3 separate regions of the Homo sapiens genome follow, and all the other regions are linked to region 3. Evidence: promoter capture Hi-C in 16 types of primary human blood cells and fetal thymus (Javierre and others, 2016). All regions are on one chromosome and are shown on one strand. The core of a region is centred on a gene start or on the middle of the fragment in contact, and the rest is flanking DNA. Distances in the headings are between cores, read along the strand shown.

What was found. The method cuts DNA at HindIII sites, captures the fragments that hold promoters and counts their contacts. A CHiCAGO score of 5 or more calls a contact.
Region 1: a contact is called between a fragment that was not itself captured here and the fragment with the promoter of TMEM130 in region 3, in 1 of 17 cell types (total CD4 T cells). The highest score is 6.9, in total CD4 T cells.
Region 2: a contact is called between a fragment that was not itself captured here and the fragment with the promoter of TMEM130 in region 3, in 1 of 17 cell types (total B cells). The highest score is 5.5, in total B cells.

The regions. Positions count from the first base shown.
Region 1 is chr7:103,065,400-103,068,840 of GRCh38, forward strand. All of the region lies in intron 1 of FBXL13 (F-box and leucine rich repeat protein 13), which reads right to left. Among named protein-coding and RNA genes, the nearest start is that of FBXL13, 7.7 kb to the right of the region's middle. RefSeq lists a silencer at 303-597. The HindIII fragment of the contact is 5,499 bases long and covers 1-3,441 here.
Region 2 is chr7:103,353,682-103,357,253 of GRCh38, forward strand. It overlaps PSMC2 (proteasome 26S subunit, ATPase 2), which reads left to right. Exons shown (of 12, transcript NM_002803.4): 2 at 240-277; 3 at 1,187-1,268; 4 at 2,013-2,112. It also overlaps a transcript of SLC26A5 not described here. Among named protein-coding and RNA genes, the nearest start is that of PSMC2, 7.8 kb to the left of the region's middle. The HindIII fragment of the contact is 280 bases long and covers 1,954-2,233 here.
Region 3 is chr7:98,868,520-98,871,916 of GRCh38, forward strand. It overlaps TMEM130 (transmembrane protein 130), which reads right to left and starts at 1,495. Exons shown (of 8, transcript NM_152913.3): 1 at 1,258-1,495. The coding sequence starts at 1,342. RefSeq lists enhancers at 393-979, 980-1,565. The HindIII fragment of the contact is 4,583 bases long and covers 1-3,397 here.

The DNA of each region.
Region 1 (3,441 bases), core at 78-2,577, 4.2 Mb after region 3:
ATAATGAAAATACCCACACCCCGGGTGTGGTTTCTTTCCAACTCTCCGGAAAGTTCTCATGTCCCTCTCCAGTTAATCCTCCTGTATCACTCAGAGTCCAGTCAAGAGACAGAAATCACACCCGTGTTTTGAATAAAGAACAATTTATTCTATCTCATAAAGAGATTCTAATAAAGAATGCAATTCAAAGAATTACTAACTAGTAAAAAGAGAGTAACTACTAAGAGCAAAAGAGAACACTAAAGGACACCCTGTGGCTCAGACAGAGTACCCAAAGATGAAATAACCTTGGAAGGAGGGCAGCCACCTCCCCAAGGCTGAGATTCAGAGAATGTGGAGTGTGGCTGAGGTATAGTGGGGAAGTCCATTAGGTTGCCCTGAGACAGAGATAGTTCTCAGCCATGATGGTCCAAGGCTTGGTGAACAGGACCCCACCAGCTCACACTAGTGAGCAGACGCCCCCTGCTGGGGTGCCAATGGGCTGAGGCTGGTGAGCAAAACTTGCTGAAGAGTGGGCACCACTGGGTGCACCACACACATGCTCCTGGAAGCTGTGTCATGTGAACAAGAAGTGAGGAAGCACACAGGAACCAGGAACTGAAGTCCCTCTCCCTCCAGGGTCCCTCCAGCACTGACAAGGCTTAACAACATGCTAGCCCAAAGCAATGCCAAGGTCTAGATCATGACACCAGTCCAGCTTCTAGGTGTCAAGGGCTACTTTTCTCCTCCTCAATATTTCTGCAGTATTATAATCAGCTGTCTAGTTTTATGGGGAAAAAAATTTTAGACTTTAACTAAAATTGCATTGAATTTATACATTTTCTGGGAAGACATTACATGTTGTTATTTTCCCATTCATAAACACAGCAGAGTACTTCATTTCTTTAGGTCACCTTAAACATCTTTCAATAAAATTTTACAAATTCCTCCAAACAGGTCTTTCACATCTTGTCCTAAGAAACCTTATATTTTTTGTGGCTATTATGAATGTAATTTCTTTTTTTTTTTTTGAGACAGAGTCTTACTCTGTTGCCCAGGCTGGAATGTAGCGGTGCGATCTCGGCTCACTGCAAGCTCTGCCTCCCGGGTTCACACCATTCTCCTGCCTCAGCCTCCTGAGCAGCTGGGACTACAGGCGCCCGCCATCACGCCCAGCTAATTTTTTTTGTATTTTTAGTAGAGACGAGGTTTTACCTTGTTAGCCAGGATGGTGTCAAGCTCCTGACCTCATGATCCACCCGCCTCAGCCTCCCAAAGCGCTGGGATTACAGGCGTGAGCCACTGCGCCCAGCCTATGAATGTAATTTTTAAAAGCTACTGTTTAAAACTTTGGTTCTAGTGAATTGAAATGCAATTGATTTTTTAATATTCAGTGGAAGAATTTTGTGAGGATTTTTTTTTTTTTTTTTGAGATGGAGTTTCGCTCTCATTGCCCAGGCTGGAGTGCAATGGCGTGATCGCAGCTCACCGCAACCTTCGCCTCCTGGGTTCAAGAGACTCCCCTGCCTCAGCCACTCGAGTAGCTGGGATTAAAGGCATGCGCCACCACGCCCAGCTAATTTTGTATTTTTAGTGATCTTTCTCCATGTTGGTCAGGCTGGTCTTGAACTCCAAACCTCAGGTGATCTGCCCGCCTCGGCCTCCCAAGAATTTTTTTTTTTTTGTCTACTCTTTCACTGTGGGTGTAATGGAATTGTCAGAAACTGAAAATACTAGGAAATGTAGGACTATGGATATTGAGAGCCCATTTGACAACTGAGGATTGAATTTAAAGTGACACAATTCAGTTTAATTGTGTGTTCTTCCTTTAAATAATGTTCAGTTGCTCAGGGGTAAGCACGGACTGCTGGATATTTGAGTTTTACCAGGGATGGGTGTTTGTCACATCAATAGGACAGAGGGAGAAACAGGTAAAGGAGATAATCGTATTTGAAAGTGATCATAATGATGGTGTGGTGGCATTTTAAAAGCATGTCTGCAAATGATATTTCTTACATAAAGAGGTGGGGTTTAATTCCTCTCCTCTTGAATATGGATTAGTCTTAATAATCCACTTGTAATGAAGAGAATACAGTGAAAGTGATGTTGAGTAACTTCTGGGGCTAGGTTATAAAAGGAGATTTTACTTGGCTCTGTCTCTTGGACACCTGTTTTGGGACCCAGCCTCCACGCTGTGAGGAAGCTCAAGCTACATGGAGATGTTACACATAGATGTTCTACCTGTCAGTCTCAGGAGAGGTCCTCATCGACAGCCAGCATCAACTGCCAGGCATGTAGGTAAGGAAGCCTTCAAGATGATTTTAACCTCAGCCACTCTGACATGTAAGTGCATGAGGGATCTCAAGCAATAATATTCTGTCAACTCCCATAACTGTGAGAGGCAATAATAAAATGAATACTGTTATTTTAAATCACTAAATGTTGTAAAGACATTTAGGTAATAGACATCCACAATAATGATGAACCAAGGAATCTAAGATGGGTAAAGAGAGAAATAAGGACATAAGAGTAATATTTGACAGTGCAAAGATAATTGAATGAAATGGTGGTTTGAGTCAGTTGAAGAAGTGCTAGTGTAGAAGCTCCAATGTGAGTGAGCTAAGAAATTAAGAGATAAGTGGATGAAGAAATGGAGATTTCAGAGATGGTACAGCAATTTAGGATAAAATGGTTAAGAGTATGACCATAGAAGGACATGACTGAGGAACGGTGAAAGCAAAGATAACTGGAAGAAAGGTCAAGGATGTGAACGGAACATCCCTGTGAATACTGCGGGCACAAGAACAATGACAGGAGTAGAGAAAAAGGAAGATGGTGAGCCAGATGCTAATGCTACCAACAAAACATAGAGATTGGTACATAATGAAGACAGTGAGTGCTAAATCTGATGTTATGAACTACAAAGAAGCTGAGACTTTAGAAAAAGGAGGGAAGATACATAGTTTGGAAGTGGAAATGGGGAGCCAAGGAAGACACCTAACCTATCTCTAGATCTGAGGTAAACTGAGGAGTGAAACAAGACAGTCTCCCTAGGATTTCATATCTGAGTAGGATGTGGAAAGTCACCATGGTCCAATGACCCTGCTACAACAACTAGAAAAAAACAGACACATTACAAAAATCACATTTAAAAAAGATATTGGCGAGCCATGGAATTCCAGGGGAAGGAAATTTTTCTGAAGTGAGCTGACAATGCACAGCTGCTTTTTTTCCCTGGGAACGTGTGCCAGCTCTGGGTAGGAAAGAGGACAGGGCTGGGCCCAGGCAGAGAAAGTCTACAAATGGGAAGAGAAACCAATAGGCTTATGGTGGTGGCACGGGGGTAACATGACAGGTTAGAAACTTGAGGTGCCCCAAGTGTGGCCACTGTCTCCCATAAGGCAGTGAGTTCTGGGAGTGTTCACACAGGAGGCTGAGGAGCTAGAACATCAACTCCTACAA
Region 2 (3,572 bases), core at 844-3,343, 4.5 Mb after region 3:
TATAAAATAGGTCATCACGTATATTATGTACTTTTAAAAACCTATTTTCCTCCCAGTTAGATAAAAATTCCTTGAGTCCAGGAACTATTTGATTGAATATGTATCATCATAATCTTGCTTGATTTTTGACACTCACTTAAAACAATTTGAATCGAACAGAAAAAAAGCTCTAGTTTCTTTTTTAAAAATTTTAATTCTAGTTTCTTTTTGAATCTCACGTATTGTCTCTCTTCTTTCAGCTCTGGATGAGGGGGATATTGCCTTGTTGAAAACTTATGTAAGTCCTTTCAGTGTCTACAAACTATAGATGTTTTATGTTGAAATAAAAACTGTTTTGGTATTGTCCTTCCAAAATAATTAGAAGAAGTTAAGAAACCAAAAATTAAAAAACCAAACAAAAAATAAAATAAAAAGAAACAATTAGAAAAGAATGTCTGGCAGCTTCTAGTAATCTTCACTAAATGAAGTTACCTACCTAAAGTTTATAGAATAGATCAAAGTATTTGGCATGTCTCAGTTTATGTATTATTTTAATACTATTCGTGATTAAAATGTGATGCTATATTGAAAGATATTTGAAATCATTTACACAAGTTTACTATATTTAACAAGTATTACTGAATTAGTTCTGAAATGAAGTTTTAATGCATAGAAATCGATAGTTTTGCATAATTTCACACACGATTTTTTTTTTTTTTTTTTTTGAAACGGAGTGTTGCTCTTGTCACCCAGGCTGGAGTGCAATGGCGCGATCTTGGTTCACTGCAACCTCCGCCTCCTGGGTTCAAGCGATTCTCCTGCCTCAGCCTCCTGAGTAGCTGGGATTATGAGCGCCCACCACCACGTCTGGCTAATTTTTTGTATTTTTGGTAGAGACAGGGTTTCATCATGTTGGCCAGGCTGGTCTTGAATTATTGACCTCAGGTGATCCACCCGCCTCCGCCCCCTAAAGTGCAGGGATTATAGGCATGAGCCACCATGCCTGGCCATGATTTTCATTTGTTATCTTGCATAATAGTGGATTGTGTATTTAGGGGGAAATATTGGGTCAGGAATACCTCTCTACTTCACAAGCTTTGGGATAATGATAGCTATTGAAATTGTAACTTAAAAATAATTTTTACCTGTAGTTTTAATAAATGGTTGATATCCTGATATTCTAACTAAACTGACCTTCATCACCTAGGGTCAGAGCACTTACTCTAGGCAGATCAAGCAAGTTGAAGATGACATTCAGCAACTTCTCAAGAAAATTAATGAGCTCACTGGTATGTATTTTTAAATTCCCATTTCCTTCCTTTAAATGTAATGTGTGAATAATATCAAGAGTTTAAATACAGATTTTACTCCTTCATGATTACAGATTTAAAAAAAATCATTATTCTTCCTTTCTGTTAAGAAATTAGATCTCATTTAACCATATCTTTCACTGCTTTTTACAACCAGGTTTAATGCTTATGCAGTTAAGAAATAAGAAATAGTACCATCTTCTAAGCCAGTAATATTTCTGTTGGTCAAAACCCAGTTCAGTAAACTTCAGTTAACAAGTCAAAAAACTTTTTTGGATAAAAATAAGATCTCACAACATAGTTTTGCTTCAAGTAATTGGGCTCTTTCCTGGAACTTTTTGGGGGGAACTTGAATGATGAAGTTTTATAATATTTGACCTACACAAAAATGTCAAATGTGGCATTATATTTTTGGCTTGACAATTACTTTAGGGCAGGGTGTAGTTTTCAGCTGGGGTGATTTTGCCCCACCCTCCCAACCCCTCCCAGAGGACACTGGGCAATGTCTGGAGACATCCTTGATTGTCATGACTTTGAGAGAGGGTGGTGCTGCTGGCGTCTAGTGGTGAGAGGCCAGGGATGCTACTAAACAGTCTATAATGCACATGATAGTCCTCACAATGAATGATTCAGTGCAAAATATCAGTAGTGCTGAGGTTTAGAAAGCTTATTATAGGGTGATGCATTACATTTTAGTAAATTTTGTCATCTTTCTCTATGTAGGTATTAAAGAATCTGACACTGGCCTGGCCCCACCAGCACTCTGGGATTTGGCTGCAGATAAGCAGACACTCCAGAGTGAACAGCCTTTACAGGTTGCCAGGTATGCACGGGTGCTCTGTGGCAACTTACCTTTGTCTGTATTTTCAAGCACTTAATGTTAGAGTCTCAGGGATAATGCAATAGTTCATAAATAATTTTGATTCCAAATTCCAAGTAAATAAAGCTTTCTACAAAACTGGGGTTAAAATTTTATGCCTTAAACAATTCTTCAAAAATATATGAAGGCATAATCATTTAAAAGATTTAAATGATATAAAAAGATGTAGAGCAAGAAATGAAAAACTCCCTTCTCATACTTGCTTTCCCGTTGCCCTTTCCTCAAACGTAACTACTGAAATAGTTTGGCCCTCGTAATCCTCTGTGTATCTTCCTGTATTTGCATGCAAAGAAACATATCCTGATTTTTTTTTTTTTAGATATAACTACATGTTTTGGGAATCTTTGTCTTTAATATAGGTATACTTATTTCTTTTTTCTTGTGTTTTTAAAAAATTGCAAAAATTGCATAATGTGTAGATGTTAGGCTGTAACAATTTCTGTTACTATACACAGTGCTGTAGTGAATATTCGTGTTAAATGTTTCTCAGTGTATGTGCATACATTTCTGTAGGCTAGCTTACTACAAGTGGAATTCTAGGGGTCAAAGATATTATAGTTTTAAAATCCTGTGAAAATTACTTTGGCCAGTTTATACTTTTACCAAGAGGCTTTGAGGCAAATGTCCATTTGTCTGATCAATGTAAGATACGCAGTTTTCAATTTTTACACTTTTGCCATTTGAGGGAAAATAATTTTAATTTGTACTGTGTTGATTACTAGTATGATAGCTACTTCTTTTGTTTACTAAACATCTGTATTTCTTTGACTACTCATGTTTTGTTCTTGGGTTGTTTCTTGTTAATTTTAGAAACAGTTCATATATTGTACATATTGTCTTTTCTTAAGTATGCTACAAGTATTTTTCCCTAGTCACTTTTAACTTCTTGGTACCTTTTGTTGTACTAATGTTTTACATTTTTAGGAGATAAAATATACCAATATTTCCATTATACCTTTTGGGTGTTAATGTTGCTTAGAAAAACCTAGCCCAATTCAAGGCTATAAACATATTCTCCTCTGTTTATAATCCTTTTAAAAATTTTGTTTTTATTTTTAGTTCCTAAAAGCTAAAGATTATTTTTATTTCCCATCTACTCACCCTCCCTACTTCACAATTTCCATCTTTTCTCACTTTTATTTATTCACTCACTTTTTAGTTTTATCATGGTTTTTGAAGGGTTAAATAGTTCAGGCTGGGCACGGCAGCTCACGCCTGTAATCCCAGCACTTTGGGAGGCCCAGGCAGGCAGATGACTTGAGGTCAGGAGTTCAAGACCAGCCTGGTCAACATAGTGAAACCCCGTCTCTACTAAAAATACAAAAATTAACTGGGTGTGGTGGCGGGCGCTTGTAATCCCAGCTACTGGAGAGGCTGAGGCAGGAGAATCGCTTGAACCTGGG
Region 3 (3,397 bases), core at 245-2,744:
CTAAAGTCTGGATAACACAACCCAGAATTAATTAATAGTCCAGTACATGGACTTCTGACTTACAAATCCCTGATTCATGGACTCCAGAAAGGGGAAGGGTAGAAAAGTCTCCCCGACGGGTGAGGGAGAAGATGTTTCCCAACTCCACTCTTAGCCACTGTGATTTTGACCACATCAAGGGTGCAATTGGCTAGAATGGGAACCACACATGATTTCCAAATAATTAATTCACTTTTGTTATTATTTTCTTTTTCTTTTGCAATTTAGGACACATTGAAAATCTCTGACACAAATCAACCTGATGGACAAGAGACCCCTTTCCTGTATTTCCAGGAGGAAATAGGTAATCTTGTCCAAGTGCAATTCCCATAAAATTCGTCTAATTCATCCCTGAGTTGCAGGTTTTCTTTGACCTCATGGTTTTTCTTTCACAAATTTTCATTAGATCCCTTGCTCTCTCTCTCCACCGCTCTTTTATGAGGGGGGAGGGGGTGAAAAGTGGTGGATAGTATTCAACCTTCTTAGCTGCCCACGTCCCATCTGTCCCTCGAATAGTCTTAAATCTGGGTCCTTTTATGGTTCCCAAAATGTGGCAGAGAGGTGGGTGCTGGCTTTCTGGCGGTGGGGAAGTGGGGGCAGTAGACACACAACCCTGCTTCCCCCACTCCCCCACCCACACACACACCCCAGGAACCTGTCAGCTCCGGGTCCATTTTGGAAATCACCACCAGAGAGGAAATGGCAGCCTGGCCTCCTGGGCTCTAAATTCGCATCTCCCCAAAGCCAGCACCAACACGGTGGGAAACCCCTCTAGATGAGGCGACATTTTAAGGCAAAAACGTTGCCCATCCCGTGCTCCCTGGGGGACTGGGGAATTGTGGCGCGATGACGGACCCTGGCGCATCCCCGCCTCCCTGCCTCGTCCTCCCCTCCCTTAGCGGGTGCATGGTCCCCAGGCATCGACGGATGCGCCGGCCACCCCCGCGCGGTTTCCAGGGCAGGGCCAGCCTGGGGGGGTGGAAGCAGGAATCCAGGGGGTGCGGGGAGCCCCCTCCAGTGCCCAGGCGACTTTGGGGAACAAGGATGAAAGGAGAGGGGAAAGGGCGCTGCAGTGGCCTCAGCCGAGGAGGGAGATGCGCGCAGGGCGCACGGTGCCACCTCCGCAATCCCTGCTCCCGGGCCCACTCGCCCGCTGAGACGGTTCCAGGCCCCGGGCGGGCTGCGGCTGCAGGGAGGCCGGATTGCCCAGCGCCTTACCTGCGGCCACCCCTGCCGGGGCCCAGGGCAGGAGGCAGGCAAGCCAGAGGATGCGGCCGAGGCGCGACCACACTGCCTGGGCCATTGCGGGGCCCGGAGCGGGAGAAGCGTGGGGCGGACGCGGAGGGAATGCAGCTGGAGCTCGAGAACTGCGGCGGTCGCTCCTCCGGGCGCGCAGCGCGGGCGGTGCGGGGAGGTGCGGGCGCCGTGCTCGCTCGTCCTCGCCGGGGGACGCTCTGTCGCTGCGCGCCGCCGCCGCCGCCCACAGCCCGCTGCGCGACCCCGGCCCACGTCAGCCGCGCCGCGCGCCCTCCTCCTCCTCCCGCCGCCCCTTGCTCCCGCGTCCCTCTCCACGGCCGCGTCCTCCCTCTCCGGGTCTCTTCCCACGGCCGCGCCCCCTGCCCTCCTGGAGTCCACGATCGCCCCTCCCAGCTTGCTTCCCCTCTAGGGGTTCCAGAGCTCCCTTCCTGCGCCCTGGCTCCTCCCCGCATCCCTCCCCACCCCAAATCCACCCCCGGCCGCATCCTTCCCCTCCACTACCCGAAACCACGCCCCCCGCACCCGCATTTTTCCCTTCCCCCGAGCCCCTCCCCGCCCTGGATCCGATGCCGCCGGCTCTGACTCAGCGTCCCCAGGGGCGTGCGCTGCGCTGCAAGCCGCCTGCAGGTCCCTTGGGGCTCTCCTCCAGGTGCCTTCTCTCTGCACGCTCGTGGCTCCGAGATGCTACTCCTCATTCAAGAACTGTTGAGAGCTTAAGGTGCGCCAGGCGTTGGGCGAAAGGCCTCGAAATTCCTCTTGCTGCTGCTGCTGCTGCTGCTTCCTCTTTTCTTTTTTTTTTTTTTTTAATCTTGAGACAGAGTCTCGCTCTGTCCCAGAATGGCGCGATCTCGGCTCACTGCAACCTCCGCCTCCCGGGTTCAAGCGATTCTCCTGCCTCAGCCTCCCTAGTAAGATGGGATTACAGGTGCCCGCCACCAGGCCTGGCTAATTTTTGTATTTTTAGTAGAGACGGGGTTTCACCATGTTGGCCAGGTTGGTCTCAAACTCCTGGCCTCAAGTGATCCTCTCGCCTCAGCCTCCCAAAATGTTGGGATTACAGGTGTAAGCCACTGTGCCCAGCCTCTTGCCCCTTCTTGATAGAGGGGCCTGAGCACCCGGCCCCTGCCGTGGGCTTGATGTCATCCCCCGGTTTACCCTCTCACAGCTGCTGTTAAGATGGGGCTCCTGCTCGTATCTGGGCCCAGGGCAACTTCTTTGTCACTGAGGGCCTTGTGGGAGTCAGGCTACTGCGGTGAGGGGTGACCAGCCTACACAGTTACTGCCATTTGCCTTAGAGGAGCAGGGCTGGGCTCTCCTAGAAGCTGGAGGGGCCTGGCTGGCCTTAAACGCTGGAAGCCCGGTGGGTTCTGGTCCCAGCTATGCTTCCGCTTTGCTACGGCTACCTGGGCGAGGGATCCTCCCACACAGTGAGGGCCTTTGACCTCCTCTCTGGCCCGTGGAGCACGGATGGACCATCACTGCACCACCCAGTGCATTGACATCAAGGCGTCTAAAGCAGGGGTCTCCAAGCCCCTGGCCGCCAGTACCAGTCCATAGCCTGTTAGGAACTGGCTGCACAGCAGGAGGTGAGCAGGGCCTGTGAGCCACGCTGAGCTCCACCTCCTGGCAGATCAGCAGGGCATTAGATTCTCATAGGAGCGCAAACCCTACTGTGAACTGCTCACGTGAGGGATCAAGGTTGCGTGCTCCTTATGAGAATCTAATGCCTGATGTTCTGTCACTGTTTCCCATCATCCCCAGATGGGACCATCTAGTTGCAAGAAAGCAAGCTCAGGGCTCCCACTGATTCTACATGATGGTGAGTATGTAATCATAATAGAAATAAAGTATACAATAAAAGTAATGCGCTTGAATCATCCCGAAACCATCCCTCCAACCCCTCATTCGTGGAAACATTGTCTTTGGTGCCAAAAAGGTTGGGGACTACTGGTCTAAAGGGCCCCTGGCTCTGGGACAGCTGTGAGCTTCCCTAAGAATGGGCCCCACTGGCCCCACTGCTATGTTCAGGGAATGGAGGGAGAATAGATTTGAGTGAGCCCCTATGAAAAGTTAAAAGGGCTAGACAGGGCAGGGCATGGTG